Regions from separate parts of the Homo sapiens genome. Here region 2 is linked to region 1. Evidence: promoter capture Hi-C in 16 types of primary human blood cells and fetal thymus (Javierre and others, 2016). All regions are on one chromosome and are shown on one strand. Each heading gives the region's core, a stretch centred on a gene start or on the middle of the fragment in contact. The rest is flanking DNA. Distances are from core to core; before and after follow the strand shown.

Evidence for each region. Contacts are between HindIII fragments. The CHiCAGO score rates a contact against its expected background, and 5 or more counts as called.
Region 2: a fragment that was not itself captured here is called in contact with the fragment with the promoter of ZNF394 in region 1 in 1 of 17 cell types (erythroblasts); the score reaches 7.2 in erythroblasts.

What each region holds. Positions count from the first base shown.
Region 1 is chr7:99,497,501-99,503,399 of GRCh38, reverse strand. It overlaps ZNF394 (zinc finger protein 394), which reads left to right and starts at 3,119. Exons shown (of 3, transcript NM_032164.4): 1 at 3,119-3,762; 2 at 4,558-4,684. The coding sequence starts at 3,307. RefSeq lists enhancers at 3,509-3,788, 4,011-4,679. The HindIII fragment of the contact is 23,896 bases long and covers 1-5,899 here.
Region 2 is chr7:100,018,760-100,024,658 of GRCh38, reverse strand. It overlaps ZKSCAN1 (zinc finger with KRAB and SCAN domains 1), which reads right to left. Exons shown (of 6, transcript NM_003439.4): 2 at 727-1,240; 3 at 352-505. The coding sequence starts at 1,152. Among named protein-coding and RNA genes, the nearest start is that of ZKSCAN1, 6.1 kb to the right of the region's middle. The HindIII fragment of the contact is 1,298 bases long and covers 3,005-4,302 here.

The DNA of each region.
Region 1 (5,899 bases), core at 1,870-4,369:
GAATTTTGCACCTATGGCTTAATTTTGTTGCTCGTATAAAGTTGTTTAATGTCTATGAAAGTTGTTCCAGATGGGCATGGTGGCTCACGCCTGTAATCCCAACATTTTGGGAGGCCGAGGTGAGAGGATCACTAGAATCCAGGAGTTGAAGACCAGCCTGGCCTTTTTACCCCGTCTCTACAAAAAATAAAATAAAATTAGCTAGGCATGGTGGCACATGCCTATAGTCTCAGCTACTCAGCAGGCTGAGACTGGAGGATCACTTGAATTCAAGAGGTTGAGGCTGCAGTGAGTTATGATTGTGCCATTGCACTTCAGCACCTCAGTGACAGAGACACCCCGTCTCAAAAAAAAAAATGTTTGGTGGATACCCATTCTTTTCTAATATATTTACCTCCATTTAAATGATTTATTTATTTGTTTGTTTATCTATTTATTTTTTTGAGACGGAATCTCACTCTGTCGCCCAGGCTGGAGTGCCGTGGCATGATCTCGGCTCACTGCAACCTCCGCCTCCCGGGTTCAAGCGATTCTCCTGCCTCAGCCTCCTGAGTAGCTGGGATTACAGGTGTGTGCCACCACACCTGGATAACTTTTTGTATTTTTAGTAGAGATGGGGTTTCACCGTGTTACCCAGGATGGTCTCCATCTCCTGACCTCGTGATCTGCCTGCTTCGGCCTCCCAAAGTGCTGGGATTACAGGCGTGAGCCACCGCAACCGGTTTGAATTATTTATAAACACCTTTTGCATTTCAATAATTTATTTCTTAAATAGATAACACATTTGCATGAGTCAAAATTCAATAAGGCACTTAAGGTCTTCCTCTCATTCTCATTCTACATTCATTTTTCTCTCTAGAGATAGCCAAGATGACTAGTTTCCTTTTTTTTTTTTTTTTTTTTTTTTTTTGAGATGGTTTTGCTGGTTGCCTAGGCTGGAGTGAATGGCACGATCTTGGCTTAGTGAACCTCTGCCTCCTGGGTTCAAGTGATTCTCCTGCCTCAGCCTCCCGAGTAGCTGCGATTACAGGCATGCGCCACCATGCCCGGCTAATTTTGTATTTTTTAGTAGAGACGAAGTTTCTCCATGTTGGTCAGGCTGGTCTTGAACTCCCGACCTCAGGTGATCCCCTCGCCTCGGCCTCCCAAAGTGCTGGGATTACAGGCGTGAGCCACCGCACCTGGCTCCATAAGAGATATTTTTATGTCTAGTTATTAAACACACCTGGATTGATAAATAGTGTTCGGTTTGTTTGGGCGTGGGGTGGGGAGGGGGATTGCTTGAACCCAGGAGGCAGAGGTTGCAGTGAGCCGAGGTCAGGAAATCAAGACCATCCTGGCTAACATGGTGAAACCCCGTCTCTACTAAAAATACAAAAAATTAGCTGGGTGTGGTGGCACGCGCCTGTAATCCCAGCTACTTGGGAGGCTGAGATAGGAGAATCGCTTGAACCCGAGCGATACTCCCTCTCAAAAAAAAATTTTTTTATTTTTATATGGAGACACATCCTCTCTATGTTGCTCAGGCTGGCCTGGAACTCCTGGTCTCAAGCGATCGTCTCATTTTATGCAAGTTGCAAATCACCAGCAGCTTGACATCAACCAAGACACTTTGTTTTAGAGACAGAGTCTTGCTCTGTCACCCAGGCTGGAGTGCACTGGTGCGATCATATCTCACTGCAGTCTTTACCTCCTGGGCTCAAAGGATCCTCCCACCTCAGCCTCCCAAGTAAGTGGTGTATCCTGAGTTGGTTCCTTCCAGTGGGTTCATCCTCTCGCTGACTTCAAGAATGCAGCCTCCGACCTTCACTGTGTTACAGCTCTTAAAGATGGCACGGACCCAAAGAGTGAGTAGCAGCAAGATTTATTGTGAAGAGCGAAAGAACAAACCTTCCACAGCATGGCAGAGCACTCCAGCCGGTTGCCTCCGCTGACTGGGGTGGGAGCTTTTAGTCTCTTATTTGTCCCCTCCCATGTCCGTTTCTGTCGTATCAGAACGCCCTTTTTTCCATCCTCCCTGCGATTGGCTGCTTTTAGAATCCTGCTGATTGGTCCATTTTACAGAGCGCTGATTGGTGCATTTTACAAACCTCTTGCTAGCTACAGAGCGCTGATTGGTGCATTTTTACAAACCTCTTGTAAGACAGAAAAGTTGTCCAAGTCCCCACTGGACCCAGGAAGTCCAACTAGCTTCACCTCTCACTGGGACTACAGGTGTGCACCACCACACCCAGCTAATTTTTTATTTTTTGTAGACATTGGGGTCTCCAATTCTTGGCTTCAAGCGATCTTCCCCCCTCAGCCTCCCAAAATGCTGGGATTACAGGCATACGCCACTGAGCCAGGCCAGGACACATCTTTGAGCCTCAATTTCCTCATCTTTTTTGTTTGTTTGTTAGGATCAAAGTCGTTAACATCTGATGTACATGGAAGCACTTAGTTTTAAAAAAAAAACAAAACTTTTTCCAACTGGGCGCAGCGGCTCACGCCTGTAATCCAGCACTTTGGGAGGCCGGGGCAGGCGGATCACGAGGTCAGGAGTTCCAGACCAGCCTGACCAACATGGTGAAACCCCATCTCTACTAAAATACAGAAAGTAGCCGGGCATGGTGGCGCGCGCCTGTAGTCCAAGCTACTCAGGAGGCTAAGACAGCCTGGCGACAGAGCGAGAGTCCGCCTGAAAAAAGAAAAAAAAACAACTTTGTCCAACCTGGGCAATATAATGAAACCCCATCCCCACAGAAAAATTAATAAACCGGGCGTGGTCGCGCGCACCTGTAGTCCTAGATACTTGGGAGGCTGAAGCTGGAGAATTGCTTGAACCCGGGAGACAGAAGTTGCAGTGAGCCGAAATCGCGCCACTGCAGTCCAGCCTGGGCGACAGAGCCAGACCCTGTCTATTTAATCCTGAAGGTTCCCGCCCTTGCCGGAGCTCGGCCACCGGCTCGGACGCCCGTATTTCCTCGGGATGCGGGAAACCGTCAAGACCCTCTGCGTCGGGCGGGGCTAGGACGATAAACCAGCGAGATGCACCTCACCCCATCAGGCGCCTAGAGAGGCCCCGGAAATGCAGGGAAAGGTGCCGCAAGGCCTCGATGACGCGCTTCCGGCACGGGATGTTTTCGGTTGTTTGACCGAGAGAGTTGTAGGCGCAAAGCTGAGGAAAGGAGAGTGTGGAGAGGGGCCTGGTGTGGTGGGGCCCGGTGTTTGGGACCGGAGGGTGTTGACGGCTGATGAGTTCCTTGGGTTTGCTCTTTCTTCACCTGAAAAGAAGACTCCAGGAAGGGCAGCACATGCCGGAGAAAGATGAATTCCAGCTTGACCGCCCAGAGGCGCGGCAGTGACGCCGAGTTGGGACCCTGGGTGATGGCTGCGAGGTCCAAGGACGCGGCGCCGTCCCAACGCGACGGACTTTTGCCCGTGAAAGTGGAGGAAGACTCACCCGGAAGTTGGGAGCCCAACTATCCCGCGGCTTCGCCGGACCCCGAAACTTCTCGACTGCACTTTAGGCAGCTGCGTTACCAGGAGGTGGCTGGACCGGAAGAGGCGCTGAGCCGGCTCCGAGAACTCTGTCGTCGGTGGCTGAGACCCGAGCTGCTCTCCAAGGAGCAGATCCTGGAGCTGCTGGTGCTGGAGCAGTTCCTCACCATCCTGCCCGAGGAGCTTCAAGCCTGGGTGCGAGAGCACTGCCCAGAGAGCGGGGAGGAGGCGGTGGCCGTGGTGCGGGCTCTGCAGCGAGCGCTCGATGGAACCTCATCCCAGGTGAGAAGCGAAAGGCCTGTTCTGGAGGTGGGAGTGTGGAAAATAGGCGTTTAGGGGTGCTCTGCGTTTCGGAACTTACTTCCTTATTACATTTCGTGTGAACATTGGGGTGTGTATGGACTTCCTTTCTGTAGGCCACAGTGACAGATCCATCCAGGAAATGACTTGTTATAGACCTCAGCATAAAGCGAACACGGATTACTGGTTTTCTTTCTTTTTCTTTTCTTTTTTTTTTTTTTCTTGTTGTTCTTGCTGTTGTTTGAGATGGAGTTTCACTCTTGTTGCCCAGGCTGGAGTGCAATGGCGCGATCTCGGCTCGCTGCAACCTCTGACTCCCGGGTTCAAGCGATTCTCCTGCCTCAGTCTCCCGAGTAGCTGGGATTACAGGCGCCCGCCACCACGCCCGGCTAATTTTTGTATTTTTAGTAGAGACGGGGTTTCACTGTGTTGGCCAGGCTGGTCTCGAACTCCTGACCTCAGGTGATCCGCCCGCCTCGGCCTCCCAAAATGCTGGGATTACAGGCGTGAGCCACCGCGCCCGGCCTTGTTTACTTTTAATCTGTATCATATTTCCATTCCCATACATCACAGTGATATAAGTTAAAGAAATATTTTGCTCCTACCTACCTCCAAAATTAGTGTAAATAGTCCACAGAAAGGCTTTTCAGGATTACAAGAGAATGTCAGCCTCTATCTCTGATCTCTCCAAACTCCCTTGTCGGTACAAGACTCAAGAAGAGTGTTAGTGCTGTACAGGGACAGCAGGTACTGAATGGGGCTCTTGTGTTGTTCCAGGGGATGGTGACTTTCGAGGACACGGCTGTGTCTCTAACCTGGGAGGAGTGGGAGCGCCTGGACCCAGCACGGAGGGACTTCTGCAGAGAGAGTGCGCAGAAGGATTCCGGGAGCACAGTTCCGCCGAGTGAGTGCTGTTGCTCTGCTGGTTTATTGCGGTGTGTGGTTTGTGAAGGGCTGGTTCACTACCATCCCTGAGCCACTATGCCATTCCCAGACTTGGGCTGAGAGCCTTCAGGTGCCTTCTGTAACGCAAGCAGGAGCCTCTGTACTGCTAGGTGCTAGATTCAGCTTTTTACTTTGGTTCATTTTTAATGTTTTATACATACAGAAAACTATATAAAAAAAAGATAATGACCATCCCCTGTGTCTACCACCCAAGTTTATCAGATCTTAATACTTGGCCATATTGCCAAGGAAATAGTATGTTACAGCTGTAGGTGAGGCCCCCACATAGCCTCCCTGAAACCCTTCCCCTCTATCCTTCTCCAGAGGTAGCCAGTAAGCTGACTGTTGTGTTCATGACTTCCATGCATGTCTTATATTGTCTCTACATAGACACGTAGCTCCACGCTGTATATCATTACTGTATGGCTTTTTTTACTCAACATTACATTTTTGAGATTTACTCATGTTGATGCATGGAGCTCTACCTATTTCACGGTCCAGATACTCCAGAATTCTCTCCATTTCTGTTGATGGACATTTAGGTGTCTTAAGTTTTTAACCATTACAGCATTGCACCGAACATTCTTGTATATTCTTGCATATCTTTGTATATTTGTTTCTATGTTGGAGTTTTTGAAGAGAATATGCCTAGAGACAGGCAGTAGTCCCCCCTTCCTGGTTTTGCTTTCTGCGGTTTCACTTACCCACAGTACAATCAGATATTTTAAGACAGGGAGAGACCACATTCACATGACTTTTATTAAGTATAGCATTTGTTTTTCGTTTTTTATCTTTGGCTTTGGGGGTTTTTTTGAGATGGAGTTTTACTCTTGTTGCCCAGGGGGAGTGCAGTGGTGTGGTCTCAGCTCACTGCAACTTCTGCCTCCCAAGCCAAGCAATTCTCCTGCCTCTGTCTCCCGAGGAGCTGGAATTACAGTTATGCCCCACCATGCTCAGCTAATTTTGTGTTTTTAGTAGAGATGGGGTTTCACCATGTTGGCCAGACTGGTCTTGAACTCCTTACCTCAGGTGATCCTCCTGCCTCAGCCTCCCAAAGTGCTGGGATTACAGGTGTGAGACACCAAACCTAGCTAAGTATATTGTTATAATTAATAGTTACTGTTAATCTCTTAATGTCCCTAATTTATTAATTAAACTTGATTAAAGGGATGTA
Region 2 (5,899 bases), core at 2,404-4,903, 520 kb before region 1:
CAAAGTGCTGGGATTACAGGTGTGAGCTACCGTGCCGAGCCTAATTCTTTTCTGTAAGTAGCTTTTGAGACAGGGTCCTTGCTGTGTTGCCCAGGTTGGAGTAGTGGCATGATTACAGCTCACTGCAGCCTCAACCTCCTGGGCTCAAGCAATCCTCCCACCTCAGCCTCCTGCGTAGCTGGAATCACAGGTGTGCGCCACTATACCTGGCTAATTTTTCTATTTTTTGTAGAGATGGGGTCTCGCTACGTTGCCCAGGACTAACATGCTTCTTCATCACAGGCACTCAGCAGCACAAAGACTCTCGTCCTGAATCATTTCCCTTCCCCTAAATGAAACCTTGCTTCTTACCTCGTGACTGTAAGAGGCGGGGTTTCCGAGACGAATGTTTGAAGTGGGACTGGGTGGCCTCGTGATGAAGGTCAAAGCTCGAGGACTCCTGAACTGGATCCAGAGGCACCATCCCCCTTGCGAGCATCTCAGGTCCATGAACTTGACCTGGGACCTGAAGACAGACAGGTTGGGCTTGTGGGTAAATCACTTTGTAAATGGGAATTAAAATATTTAAAAACAGACCATGAGTATGCCAGTGGATGCAGGAAGAAAGCCAGAACATTTTTAAGACAGAGTAACCACCTAATAACCTAAAGCCTGCCAATACTTCTCCTGGCTCCAGTTTCAACGTCTGTGCCCTGCTCACACATAATAGGTTTCACCTCTTTTTACCTGTTGTCCTGATAAATCAAGCTCCAAGTCTTCTAGAAGGGTCACGGCCTCCTCTCCACTATCGGGGCGGTATTCCTGCAGCCAGACCTGGAGCTCCTTGGGCAGGATGGAAAGAAACTGCTCTAGCACCAGAAGCTCCAGGATCTGTTCCTTGGTGTTTATTTCTGGCCGCAGCCACTGATGACAAAGTTCCTTCAGCCGACTGAGAGCCTCTCGGGGCCCAAAAGTGTTCTGGTAACAGAAGCGCCTGAAGCGTTGGCGGAATATCTCTGGGTCTGGAGGAGGCGTGTCCTGTAGGGTGGAATCCTGCCCCCACATGTGGTCTTCCTCATCTTCCTCTTCCACCTTCACTATTACGATACCATCCTTCTCCTGTGCAGCCTGTGGGGACAGACCCGTGGCTTCCCGTGATTCAGCAGTCATCATTCAGGCTCCAGGAACTGACTTGATCCAAACAGGGTCTGTGCTCACCTTTATGTCCTGGGAGGTTTTATGATGTGTTTCTTTACTATTCCTGAAGTATAAAAAAAAAGTCATTAGTACGTACCTTTACAAAAAGTGATCTGTGCTGCTAACACTTTATAGGAGGCAGCACATCGAGGCACTATCAGAACGCTCCTGAGGCCGGGGGTGGTGGCTCACGCCTGTAATCTCAGCACTTTGGGAGGCCGAGGCAGGCCAATCGCCTGCGGTCAGGAGTTCAAGACCAGCCTGGCCAACATGGTGAAACCCCGTCTCTACTAAAAATACAAAAGTCAGCAGGGCATGGTGGCAGGCGCCTGTAATCCCAGCTACTCGGAAAGCTGAGGCAGGAGAAACGCTTGAACCCAGGAGGTGGAGGTTGTAGTGAGCCGAGATTACGCCACTGCACTTCCTACCTGGGAGACAAGAAGTTAAACTCCGTCAAAAAAAAAAAAATCCTGACAAATCGAGGAAAAAACTGTACAATCTCCACTGTCACTTCATATATCAAGATTTGCAAACAGAAACCTCAAACAGGCCGACTCCACCCTCAGGGTGTTTGCTTGGAGTCAGAGTGATTTACCTGCAGGTTGACAGCAGGTTACGAAATGGAGCATTAACAGTGCCCAGCCCAGAGAGCTGAATGTTAGCAGAGTGCCAGGTGCCAGGCTTAAAGCAGTACACGCACCATCTTCTTTTGTCCCTACAACAGCCCTAGCAGGTCGGCCAAACTGTTAAGTGCTGTTTTACAAATGACATAACTGAGGGTTAGGTTTGCTCAGTAGTAGGTGGCTGCCTACTGGAGTCAATATTCAACCAAATTTGAAGCCCTGGGACCTACTTTTGTACCATCCAGCTACTTTTGCTATTTTTATGAGTGACTTGGGCAGTTAAATTGTGGTTTCCAAAGTACAAGATGATCCGCAAAGGATACAGAAAGAAAATAATTGGAATGTCTGTATCTTAAAAGAGAGAGAAATTAAGCTATAAATTGACACTAATACACTTACTTAGTCTGTGCTGACCTGTCACAGGTGTTGTTCATTTTAGACATTGTGATGTAGACTGGTTTATCTGAGACCAGTTATGTGAAATAATGGATTTCTAAATCTAGCTTTGGCTGGGCGCAGTGGCTCATGCCTATAATCCCAAAACTTTGGGAGGCCAAGGCGTGCGGATCACGAGGTCAGGAGATCGGGACCATCCTGGTCAACATGGTGAAACCCTGTCTCTACTAAAAATAGAAAAATTAGCTGGGCGCGGTGGCGGGCACCTGTAGTCCCAGCTACTTGGGAGGCTGAGGAAGGAGAATCACTTGAACCCAGGAGGCGGAGGTTGCAGTGAGCCGAGATCGCGCCACTGCACTCCATCCTGGCCACAGAGCGAGACTCTGTCATAAAAGAGACAAGCAGCTTTAAAGATTCTTGTGGCCAGATATGGTAGCTCATGCCTATAATTCCAGCCCTTTGGGAGGATGAGGCAGGAGGATGCTTGAAGCCAGAAGTTTGAGACCAGCCTGGGCAACATAGCAAGACCCTGTCCCTATGAAAAAGAAAAAAATTAGCTGGGCATGGGGACTGTGTCTGCAGTCACAGCTACTCAGGAGGCTAAGGTGGGAGGATTGCATGAAACCAGAAGTTTGAGGCTGCAGTCAGCTACGATCACGCCACTGCATTCCAGCCTGGGTGACAGAGCAAAGCCCTATCAGGAAAAGGAAAAAAAAAAAAAAAAAGATTCTTATAGAGAAACTGCAATTACAGGACACACTAATAATATAAACAGATGTGAACAAGAAGAAAATGGCACAGATGAAGCTTCTATCTAGAGTAAGGTTTTAGCCACATTAGGAGGTAAAAACCAATGTCAGTCTAAATCAAAGAAAAAGTCACCAATGAGTAATCAGCTTCTTTAAAGAAAGTGTGAAGAAAGGGCAATTACAGGAACAGCTGTATGAAATGGTTCCATTGTTATGTAATTTAACTGCCAAAAATGATGTCAAGTATCCAGGAAAAACCCATCTATGTTCACATTTTAGAAACTTGGGGCTGGGTGAGGTGGCTCATGCCTGTAATACCAGCACTTTGGGAGGCTGAGGCAGGGAGCAGGGGGCCACCTGCGGTCAGGAGTTCAAGACCAGCTTGGCCATCATCGTGAAACCCCGTCTCTACTAAAAATACAAAAAATTAGCTGGGCATGGTAGCAGGCGCCTGTAATCCCAGCTATTTGGGAGACTGAGGCAGGAGAATCGCTTGAACCCAGGAGGCTGAGGTTGCAGTGAACTGAGATCACGCCATTGCACTCCAGCCTGGGTAACAAAGTGAGACTCCATCTCAAAAAAAAAAAAAAAAAAAAAAGGAAAAAAAAAAGAAACTTGGAAATATTTTCTAACCTGTTTAAAAATCTTTCAAATGAAGAATTTCAGGTGGGTCTTAAGCCTATTTGTTAAAAATATAAAATGCCACCACCTGATTAGTTTGTAAGACTATACCCTGCATTTCAACAACAAAAATTCAGCATGGTTGATAGGTTGGATCAATCACAAGTTACTAAGCAGAACTGACACTGTGATTCTTCCATCTGAAGCTACAAATCTTTCTGAATTTATTCTTTTCACCTCTACAGCCATCAAAACTAAGCATCAAATTGAAGTTTTAGAAACAGACCATTAAACTGCTTTATCATGATGGGTTAAACCGAGTTTTAAACTAGCAAAAGCATTTTTAGTTTTATGGCTCTCACTAAACATATTCTTAATTTTGGTGAAAAAGGGATCATGTACATATAACAGCACAAAAATTATATATACATATATATTGAAACGGAGTCTTGCTCTATCGCCCAGGCTGGAGTGCAATGGCATGATCTCAGCTCACTGCAACATCCGCCTCTCGGGTTCAAGTAATTCTCCTGCCTCAGCCTCCTGAGTAGCTGGGATTACAGGCCATACTTATTTTTTTTAATCTAGTTCCATGAAGTCCAGCTTCCTTTCTTTGGTTCCCTGCCTTCATTTTCTCCCTTCTCTCCCACAATCCACCTTTCAGATTATTCTTTCTAAAACTCTACAGCCTTGCAGTTAATACTTTCCAGTGCCTGGTCCCAATTTTCCCTCAAGCTTCTTTTCCCATCAATCCCCCCATAAACCTTCCCTATGCAACAAAAGCCCTCTCATCAGTATTTCCTATATATGCCTTGTATTTTGACTGCCATCCTTTCCTCACATCACACTCCATGCCTGGGACTTCCCCCCGCAGTCCTCTCTGCCTTTTCAAATCCTACTTAACCTTTAAAGCTAGCTAAAACGCGACTTGCCTCTTATCACTGTTCAAGAACCCTCTCATAACTATAACAGTAAGAGCCAATGTTTACTGAGTGCTTTCTAGGTACCGGGTATTTAAGCATTTTCACTTGACCACATAACAATCTTAGCAGGTAGCTACACTTATCATCTCACTGTATAAAGAACTGAGAGGCTGAGCGCAGCGGCTCATGCCTGTCATCCCAGCACTTTGGGAGGCCAAGGCAGATAGATAACCTGAGGTCAGGAGTTCGAGACCAGCCTGGATAACATGGCAAAACCCCATCTCTACTAAAAATACAAAAATTAGCCAGGTGTGGTGGTGCAATGCCTGTAGTCCCAGCTACTCGGGAGGCTGAGGCAGGAGAGTTGCTTCAACCTGGGAGGCGGAGGCTGCAGTGAGCTGAGATTACACCACTGCACTCCAGTCTGGGCAACAGAGTGAGACTCCATCTCAAAAAAAAACAAAAGAAGAACTGAGATATACTGCCATTAAATAACTTACTCAAGGTCACACAGCAAGTATATGGTAGAGGCAGAATTTGAAATAAAAGTGATTCCCCAATGTAAACTCTTTAACCATTATACAAAATTTATCTTGTACCTGACATGTGGGGTATACAGATCCTAAAATGAAGGCCTATGAACGTGACAATGAAGAATCAATCAGGGCCAGGCACGGTAGCTCACGCCTGTAATCCCAGCACTTTGGGATGCCAAGGAGGGTCGATCACCTGAGCTGAGGAGCTCGGGACCAGCCTGGCCAACATGACGAAACCCCGTCTCTACTAAAAATACAAAAATTAGCTGGATGTGTGGCACATACCTGTAATCTCAGCTACTCGGGAGGCTGAGGCAGGAGAATCACTTGAACCTGGGAGGTGGAGGGTGCAGTGAGCTGAGAACGCGCCACTGCACTCCAGCCTGGGTGACAGAGAGAGACTCCTTCTCAAAGAGAAAAAAAAATCACTCAGGAACGGGCCTTATCTACCACCCAGTTTTCACTGGAGGGTCACTATGTGACTGAAGCCCTTCCTGGGAAAGGGAGGAGACACAGCAGAAGATTCAAGTGGGGACTGTCTACAACATAACCAGGTGGGATCTTCAAACATGGTAACTGAGCAGAACTAGTGTGATAGCGAGCCCAGCCACCAGAAATCCCTACTTTTGTGAAAGTTTTATCCTGCCTTAGCTATTGAGCAGGACACTTCTTGGGTCAGTGCGAAGATGCGACTCTAAGGAGGAAATGAGTCCAGGGGGAAATAGACACAGACATGGGCACATTCCCTCTGCCCACAACTGGGACAGATCCTCCTCCTCACCTTCAGTATCTCTCTGCTCCTACTCTGGGGTGCAGGGAAAAGCCATCACAGCAGTGGAAAGGCTGGGTTTTATTTGAGGTTTCCCAGATGATCT